Regions from separate parts of the Homo sapiens genome. Here region 1 is linked to region 2. Evidence: promoter capture Hi-C in 16 types of primary human blood cells and fetal thymus (Javierre and others, 2016). All regions are on one chromosome and are shown on one strand. Each heading gives the region's core, a stretch centred on a gene start or on the middle of the fragment in contact. The rest is flanking DNA. Distances are from core to core; before and after follow the strand shown.

The links. Contacts are between HindIII fragments. The CHiCAGO score rates a contact against its expected background, and 5 or more counts as called.
Region 1: a contact is called between a fragment that was not itself captured here and the fragment with the promoter of EIF4E in region 2, in 1 of 17 cell types (fetal thymus). The highest score is 6.9, in fetal thymus.

The regions. Positions count from the first base shown.
Region 1 is chr4:95,153,003-95,156,782 of GRCh38, forward strand. It overlaps BMPR1B (bone morphogenetic protein receptor type 1B), which reads left to right. Exons shown (of 13, transcript NM_001203.3): 13 at 1,546-3,780. The coding sequence ends at 1,671. Among named protein-coding and RNA genes, the nearest start is that of UNC5C, 390 kb to the right of the region's middle. The HindIII fragment of the contact is 1,070 bases long and covers 1,401-2,470 here.
Region 2 is chr4:98,926,915-98,930,747 of GRCh38, forward strand. It overlaps EIF4E (eukaryotic translation initiation factor 4E), which reads right to left and starts at 2,219. Exons shown (of 7, transcript NM_001968.5): 1 at 2,181-2,219. The coding sequence starts at 2,198. RefSeq lists an enhancer at 2,613-3,812. The HindIII fragment of the contact is 5,241 bases long and covers 1-3,833 here.

The DNA of each region.
Region 1 (3,780 bases), core at 686-3,185, 3.8 Mb before region 2:
GTTTAGCCTGCATAACAAATAACATTATTTTCTTTATTTATAATGTCTTGACATTTGCATAAAACCTATTATTTCTCTGTGTGTGTTTTTAAAGCATCATAATTTTTCTCTGTGACAAACCCATGTACAGCATTCTCCCATTTTGATTAGAGAAAAAAAGTAGGCATGTTAAAGTGATACAGGTTGACCTAGTTAAGATGCCTGACTGTGCTGGGTGTCTTTGTTAATAAGGATGACGAGATGTGATTTGAACAAATCCACCTTCAGCTTGGCTCTAAGGCTGTAGTGGTGAAACCTACATAGGTCTGGAAAGCAGCGGCTAGTAAGGAAGAAATGAGTCTTGCCTTTCCTGACTCCTCCTCCTGTTCCACATTCCTCTCCTTCCACCCTCGCAGCCTTCAAACTCACCATGTTCTAGAGTTCTCTGGCAGACTGGAATGTTCAAGATGAGTTTGAAGCACCACTGGAAAAAAAAACAGGCTCTTATCAAACGTACCAAAGCACTGCAAAGGGGGGACAGAGCACTATTTCTGAAGTGTAAAAGCCATTTAAATATAATCTCTGGGCCGGGCACTGTGGCTCACATCTGTAATCCCGGCACTTTGGCAGGCCGAGGCGGGTGGATCACTTGAGTCCAGAAGTTCGAGACCAGCCTGGCCAATATAGTGAAAACCCATCTCTATTAAAAAATACAAACAATAGCCTAGTGTGTTGGTGCACACCTGTATTCCCACCTACTCGGGAGATTGATGCACGAGAATTGCTTGAACCCGGAAGGCGGAGGTTGCAATGAGCCAGGATCATGACACTGCACTCGACAGACCGAGACCCTGTCTTAAAACAAATAAACAAACAACAACAAAAACAAAAACACCTTTGGCTCATTGGTTTTGTGTCTGGTTACTAAAATGCTAAATAATATATACGTTTTCCAGCAAGCTGTGCAGAAAGCTTTATGAGATGCTGGAGCTCTGTTATTGTGGGCTTTTGGTGTTACTTGATATCTCTTCACTGAGGATTTCTTATGAAGTGAAATTGTACTTTTCAATAGGAAGACCAATAATTGATGTACCACAGGAGAAAGTTTTAGTGATGCTGTGCACAGGTCATTAATCTTGTTAAATGGTGCAGTGTGATGCTATTACTGCAGCAGACAGCTATGATTTAGGAATAACTGTGTTTGTTTGCATAGTATGGAATTAGATAAAAGATTAAAACTTATCAAGTGTTATAAACAATCTGGGAGTATTGAGTGGAATACAGACTCCCTGGGTATTTTTATGTTTGCTTAACACTAATTTCAAAGACACCTTTCTACAATCAGCAGAACCACCTGCTTGTTTCTATCACAAAGAAGACATGAACATCTGTTTTAGTCATATATAATTTTGCATGAAAAAAGCTTACAGAATTTTACTTCTACATGGTTTTAAGGGTACCTTTTAAAAATATATTCAAACTTAATGAACCTAAAACTAAAAAGCTACATTGTAACAGGTGCCAGCCTTGCAGATGATACATTTTTCTAACATTTCTCTTCCTCAGTGTCTAAGGCAGATGGGAAAACTCATGACAGAATGCTGGGCTCACAATCCTGCATCAAGGCTGACAGCCCTGCGGGTTAAGAAAACACTTGCCAAAATGTCAGAGTCCCAGGACATTAAACTCTGATAGGAGAGGAAAAGTAAGCATCTCTGCAGAAAGCCAACAGGTACTCTTCTGTTTGTGGGCAGAGCAAAAGACATCAAATAAGCATCCACAGTACAAGCCTTGAACATCGTCCTGCTTCCCAGTGGGTTCAGACCTCACCTCTCAGGGAGCGACCTGGGCAAAGACAGAGAAGCTCCCAGAAGGAGAGATTGATCCATGTCTGTTTGTAGGACGGAGAAACCGCTTGGGTAACTTGTTCAAGATATGATGCATGTTGCTTTCTAAGAAAGCCCTGTATTTTGTGATTGCCTTTTTTTTTTTTTAAGATGCTTTCATTTTGCCAAAATAAAACAGATAATGTGGATGGTTTAAGGGTTATAGTATTATAGTTTAAATAATAACAACAAAATTCTTCCCAGGAACTCTGCTGGAAGGTAAATTAAAATACTTGTTTTTCCATTGGTAAAATATTGTTGCACTCTGTGAACCAAAAGACAGTCTAAGTTGGAGGACATAGAACGGAACTCATCTTAAACATACTCCCCACCCCGTCTTGGCCTCCTCAGACCACTTTGGCCATCCCTGCATTTGGGGCCGCTATGGTAATGTGAATGCACTGGGTACAAACACCGCCTGTCTAGGACCACATTTGGAATTCCTGCAGGTGGCCTTTTGCAGCTTCAGGCAATATGGAACAAATGAAGGTTTATGTGACTCTAATAGAAGTAATTGTTGATAGGTGTTCTTCAGATCCACTTCTGTTTCTGATTGAGTTAGGCATCTCTTTCATGGTAAAACCCTTTTCATTAAACACAAAGAAAGCTTTTTTTTTTTTTTTTTTTTTTTTTTTTTTTTAATGTGCAGAGGATTGACCTGTGCATGCTTTTGATCTCTCATTCAAAGGATCAATATTAAATAAAATTGTCATGAGCTGTGTTGAAGACAGGGTGCTTTCAAATAGAGGTAATTTGCTCTTGTGTTGTAAGAGGAACATGTCAACAAAGATAGGAAATGAGGGTGATCGTGCAGATGGCTTGTATCTTATATATGCAAAGGAGCCAATCTCAGAAGCACAAAGAAAAAAGTGTGCATACCTTATTTTGTACAGATAAAGATGATGTCTTTTTGTTATTGTCTGTCTGTTTTGTATGTGTCTGAGATAAGGGATAGAGAGGAAACATCCGTCAGGCTAATTTAACTACATTTTATTTTAAAAATAGAGAAACATAACCTCTAGATGGGACAGCAGAGGACAGTTAGTAGAGGCCACAAACTGTTATGGGCTGCTGTGTTTTGTTCTAAAATCAATATGGTTGGAGCATGTATATCTTAGGTGATCATTTCACATCTTAGGAATGCCTACTCATTTTATTTTATTCTAGTGATGCTCAATTCACTATTTAATTTATTATATTTTCTCTTCTGTGGCACTTATACAAAATATCTCTTCACCTACTTAGTTCTACAGGGTTTTAACTTTGGAGCAACATGAATAAAATCATCGAGAAGGCCAATATTGTTTAGCAACATGAATACAATACAGTTTAAAGTTGTACACATCCTGCTCAACTTTATTCATATACATTTCCTTTCTGTGGTTTTCTTTTGCTTCTTAGAAATTCTGTTAGTGGTTAGTAAAGAATTTGAAAGTACTTTCTCCTTGCTGTTTTTTTTTTTTTTTAAGACATTCCTCCCAGAATACTCCAGGGGGCAGTGTTTTATAACACATTTTCCCCACTGGGTGATTGAAGGATGGAGGATTTTTGAAAATTTGACAGCTACATGAAACATGAGAAAACATTTTCCTCACTTCTGAAGTCGGTTTGCAGCTGGTAACTTGTTCATCCAGAAAACATTCTAAAGCAATGAGACTTTGTGAGCTGTGCTTACAGTTTGGGAGAATCATGAAGATTCTTTCTATATTTTGCATTTACTTCCCAGTGCTTCATAGCTGCATTTTGTTTGTAACTAAGACAGAAGAATTTCGTAATCCTTGAAATTGAAAAAAAAAAAATTGTGTTTTTAAAGAGTGAAAACAGTTAGAAAACAAGTAGAACTGTAATCAGAACGCTGCTTCAATTGATATTAAAAATAACCTCAATAATAATGTAAAGGTTCCTTTCTCTTGTG
Region 2 (3,833 bases), core at 969-3,468:
AAACTCTGCAAAACTCAAGGGACCTAAATGTGACAGAAACCTCACAGAACTCCTTATTGTTTTATAGTTTACAGTCTCGTAGCCTTGCCCCTATTACCAGATGTAATGCTTTTTACTGACACTAGTGTAGTGGGGTAGGAACAGATCTAGACAAAAGTGGACATCAGAACCTGTCAAGGGGTTTAAAATGTATATTTTACATACTTATTCTTCATTAGTGTTATGTAATATTAATGTCCTAAAGTCAGTTAACTGTAGCAACAACTTATGAGTTTTTCAGTCAATTTAATTCCCAGGAACATAAATGAAAACTGGTGCCAATAAAAAAACAAGTAAGCAAGCAGAGAAGCTGCCTTGAATTTTGACAAGGTAAGGATAGTTTACACCAACGCAATGAAAAATAAGCCTTTGTGTAGTCTATAAGAGTTTTTGAAATAGTTTTATAAAAGTCTTTAAAAGTGCCGGGTGCTGTGGCTCACGCCTGTAATCCCAGCACTTTGGGAGGCTGAGGCGGGAGGATCACTTGAGGTCAGGAGTTTCAGACCAGCCTGGCCAACATGGTGGAACCCCGTCTCTACTAAAAATACAAAAATTAGCCAGGCACGGTTGTGCGCACCTGTAATCCCAGCTACTCAAGAGGCTGAAGCAGGAGAATCGCTTGAACCCGGAGGCGGAGGTTGCAGTGAGCCGAGATCACGCCACTGCACTCCAGCCTGGGCGACAAAGCAAGACTCCATCTCAAAAAAAAAAAAAAAAAAAAAAAAAAAAAAAAGTCTTTAAAAGTCAAAGCAAACTGGTAAACCATTAGCAAAACCACAAGCTACCATGAAAAGATACACAAAAGTATCTGGCAACCAAGGTCTAGAGCTGGTTCCAGAGTGTGAAAGGTTTTCTGATTGCTAATAAACCCCATTATGCACACAAGATATCTTCACTTAGCTGTGTCGTTTCTAAAAAGGCAACAGGGCCCAGAAGTTTCAGTGAGCCAGTCCTGGCAAACCCAAATTATGAAAAATATACCCTCTGCTTAAAGATTAACTACAAACCTACCCTGGGACCAGCTTGCTTCAGTTAAGTTTAAAATGGTGCCTAAATTGAAATGAAAGTCTGTAGCATAGATAAAGAGAAAAAAAAAGTCAAATGGAAAAGTAAATTTAAAAGTTTCTATTTCCAATAAACTGCGTCTCAGAAATCTTCCAGGAGATAAAGACTCGGAAGAACAGAGGGATTGAGACCCATTCGCATTCTCTGAGGCGTGCGCACTACGCGGAAAGGATGAATGAATGGAAGACGGGCGCGTGTGAAATGCAGCAGGTCCGGCCGGCAAGCCGACCGGCTACAGCGATCTGTAGGCCTCGCTCCTCCCCCTTCCCTCCTCCATGACAGCCCAGTCCCAAGCATGGAGGGGCGAGGACAATGTGATACCCCTTCTCACCACCACCATCCCTCATTCTACTTGGAGAGCTTCACCGTGACACACGAGTGTTCCTTCCCACCCCAGACCTTTCTCGCTTCCCCTGGCGCAAACACCGGCAACTCTCCGGCGCGCTGGATTAACAGACGCTCGCCCCTCTCAACTCCCCTAAGCGAGGTCGAAGCTCCTCCGCGCGTGCCGCGGCACCACTCCCGCCTAACCCACCCTCCGGCAACACTCGCCCACCAGCTCCCCAGTCCACCGGTCTAAGGAAGACGTGCGCGCGCCCCGCACCCGAGCCCCGGAGCTGGGGTTCTGCAGGGAGGGAAAGGCTGCTCCAGGGCTCCCTCCTCCATCTCACTCCAGGCCGGCTCGCCGCCCACCCTGCCTGCGGATCCCAGTACTCGCTGGGAGCCGGCCCTGCGCCTTCCTATCATGAAGACACCATCCTCGCATACCCAGCCCAGAACCCCAGCTACCCTCCACCCTGTAGACACCTCGCGGTTCCGCAGGAGGCGCCACGCCGCCCCTCCCCCACACCGCTCCCCCAGTTCTCGGGCCCCCACCAGAAAGTGTGCGCTACACGCCGCCTCGGCCATCCTCCGGGACGTCCCCACTTGTCCGCGGGAGGTCAGGTCCAACATGAAGGGGAAGGGGCGGCAAGGGGTACAGTGCGCGCCGGGAACGCCGTCCCGCGGAGTCCCCCAGTCAGAAGGAAGACGGAGCGCGGGGACCCGTGGGGGTGGGGGCCAAAGGCAATACTCACCGGTTCGACAGTCGCCATCTTAGATCGATCTGATCGCACAACCGCTCCAGAAGGGGGGGTAAGAGGAAAAAAATGAGATTCAAACCGGATTGGCCAGCTTCTGGCCACGTGACGGATATGTCCGTTTGGCCCTGGCGGCACCTGCGCAAGACTGCGGCTGCGTGAGTAACGAGAGGCTTCTGGGAAGTGGAGTCTCTCCCCCACCTTTTTTTTTTTTTTTTTTTTAAGGTAAAGAAATTTTTTTTAAAAAGGACTGGTCACGTGGCCGATGGGTAGGGTGCGCGGTTCTCAACGCGGCGGACACTCGCTTGCTGGAGGGTGGTTTCAGTCCTCTGCTCTTCCGCCTGGATAGCTGCGGTCACACTTACTGCCAGGCAAGCCTACTGTGCCCTTTGTCGCCCTGTCCTCCCATCTTCCCCGGAAGGTTGGGAACTGCAGGCTCAGCACACACAATAAGGCTTCATTTGCTTAGTTGAGGTCCCAGGACAAGTTGCCTGTGTGTTTATTTAGTTTTCTTTTGATCTCCCACCATTTTCTCTTAGTTTCAAAAAGAGGCGGCGATGCAGAGTCGTTTAGGCAATCAACCCTCCCACGTCCCCTGGCTCAGCTAATGCTGGTGGTCATTCGTTGCCATTTCTGCGAAAGGGGACGGACGGAACCGCCCGCAGTACCCGCTTGCCACCGGCTGGACGAGGGGGAGGGACGACAGCTTTTACTGTCCCAAATCCTGAGATTAAGACCTCAGGGCTAAATCTTGCGTGGCGGTAAAAATTATTTGGAAGTTCTGTGCAACCGTTCCAATATTCCGCTTTTACGTGCACGGAAATAGCCTAAGTCCAGATGCCAGCCAGGGAAGCCACTCCGGGCCCCGCTGACTAAGCCCTGGACTGATGGTCTGGAGTCTTTAGGCCGGGTCAACTATGACTCTTGACGTTGACTCATTCTCCTTAGGCGAGTGACTTAATCGCTCGGCGTCTCAGCTTTTTTATTTATGAACCAAAGGTGATGATACACTTACCTCACAAGGGTGTGCTTCGTAATGACTGTAACCGGCTTTGAAAATGCATCGGACTCTAGAAATGATTCATAATAAGCAACTGCGTGCCTTCCTAAAGATCAAGTGCTTCTGCTTTTTTTTTTTAGCAAAGTTTAAATTTTTTTCTGTTTACTTTGTTTGATTATGATGTACACCAGTGTAGTTTTAAATGTTCAGGACCATTTTTTTTCCTTTACAACTGCAGCTGCCCTCAATAGAGGCTTTAATGTTCATGAAATTATTGTTATGCTCACAACAATCACTGGCAATCAGAAATTTGTCCCCACACTGGCATCCTACATTTCCTTTCCCTCTAAGATACTGTGCTGTCATTTCTCAAGACCGTGTTTTTTGCACAGTTTGGCTACTAATAACAACAAATAGAGATGAAGAAATCTAGTAGACTCCTAAGGTTCTAATGAAGAAGACACTGTCTCATTACTATTTCCCATGCTTTTAAATAATGTTGACACCAGGAAAAGGAGTGTATGCAGGCTGCCTGTGCCTGTCTGCTTATAGTGTTAATGAGGTCCAGAGCTGTGTCATACCTATTATTGAGTACATAATGGATGCTTGAGTTGACTAACACATAATTGAGGCTGTATGAGAACTCAAAG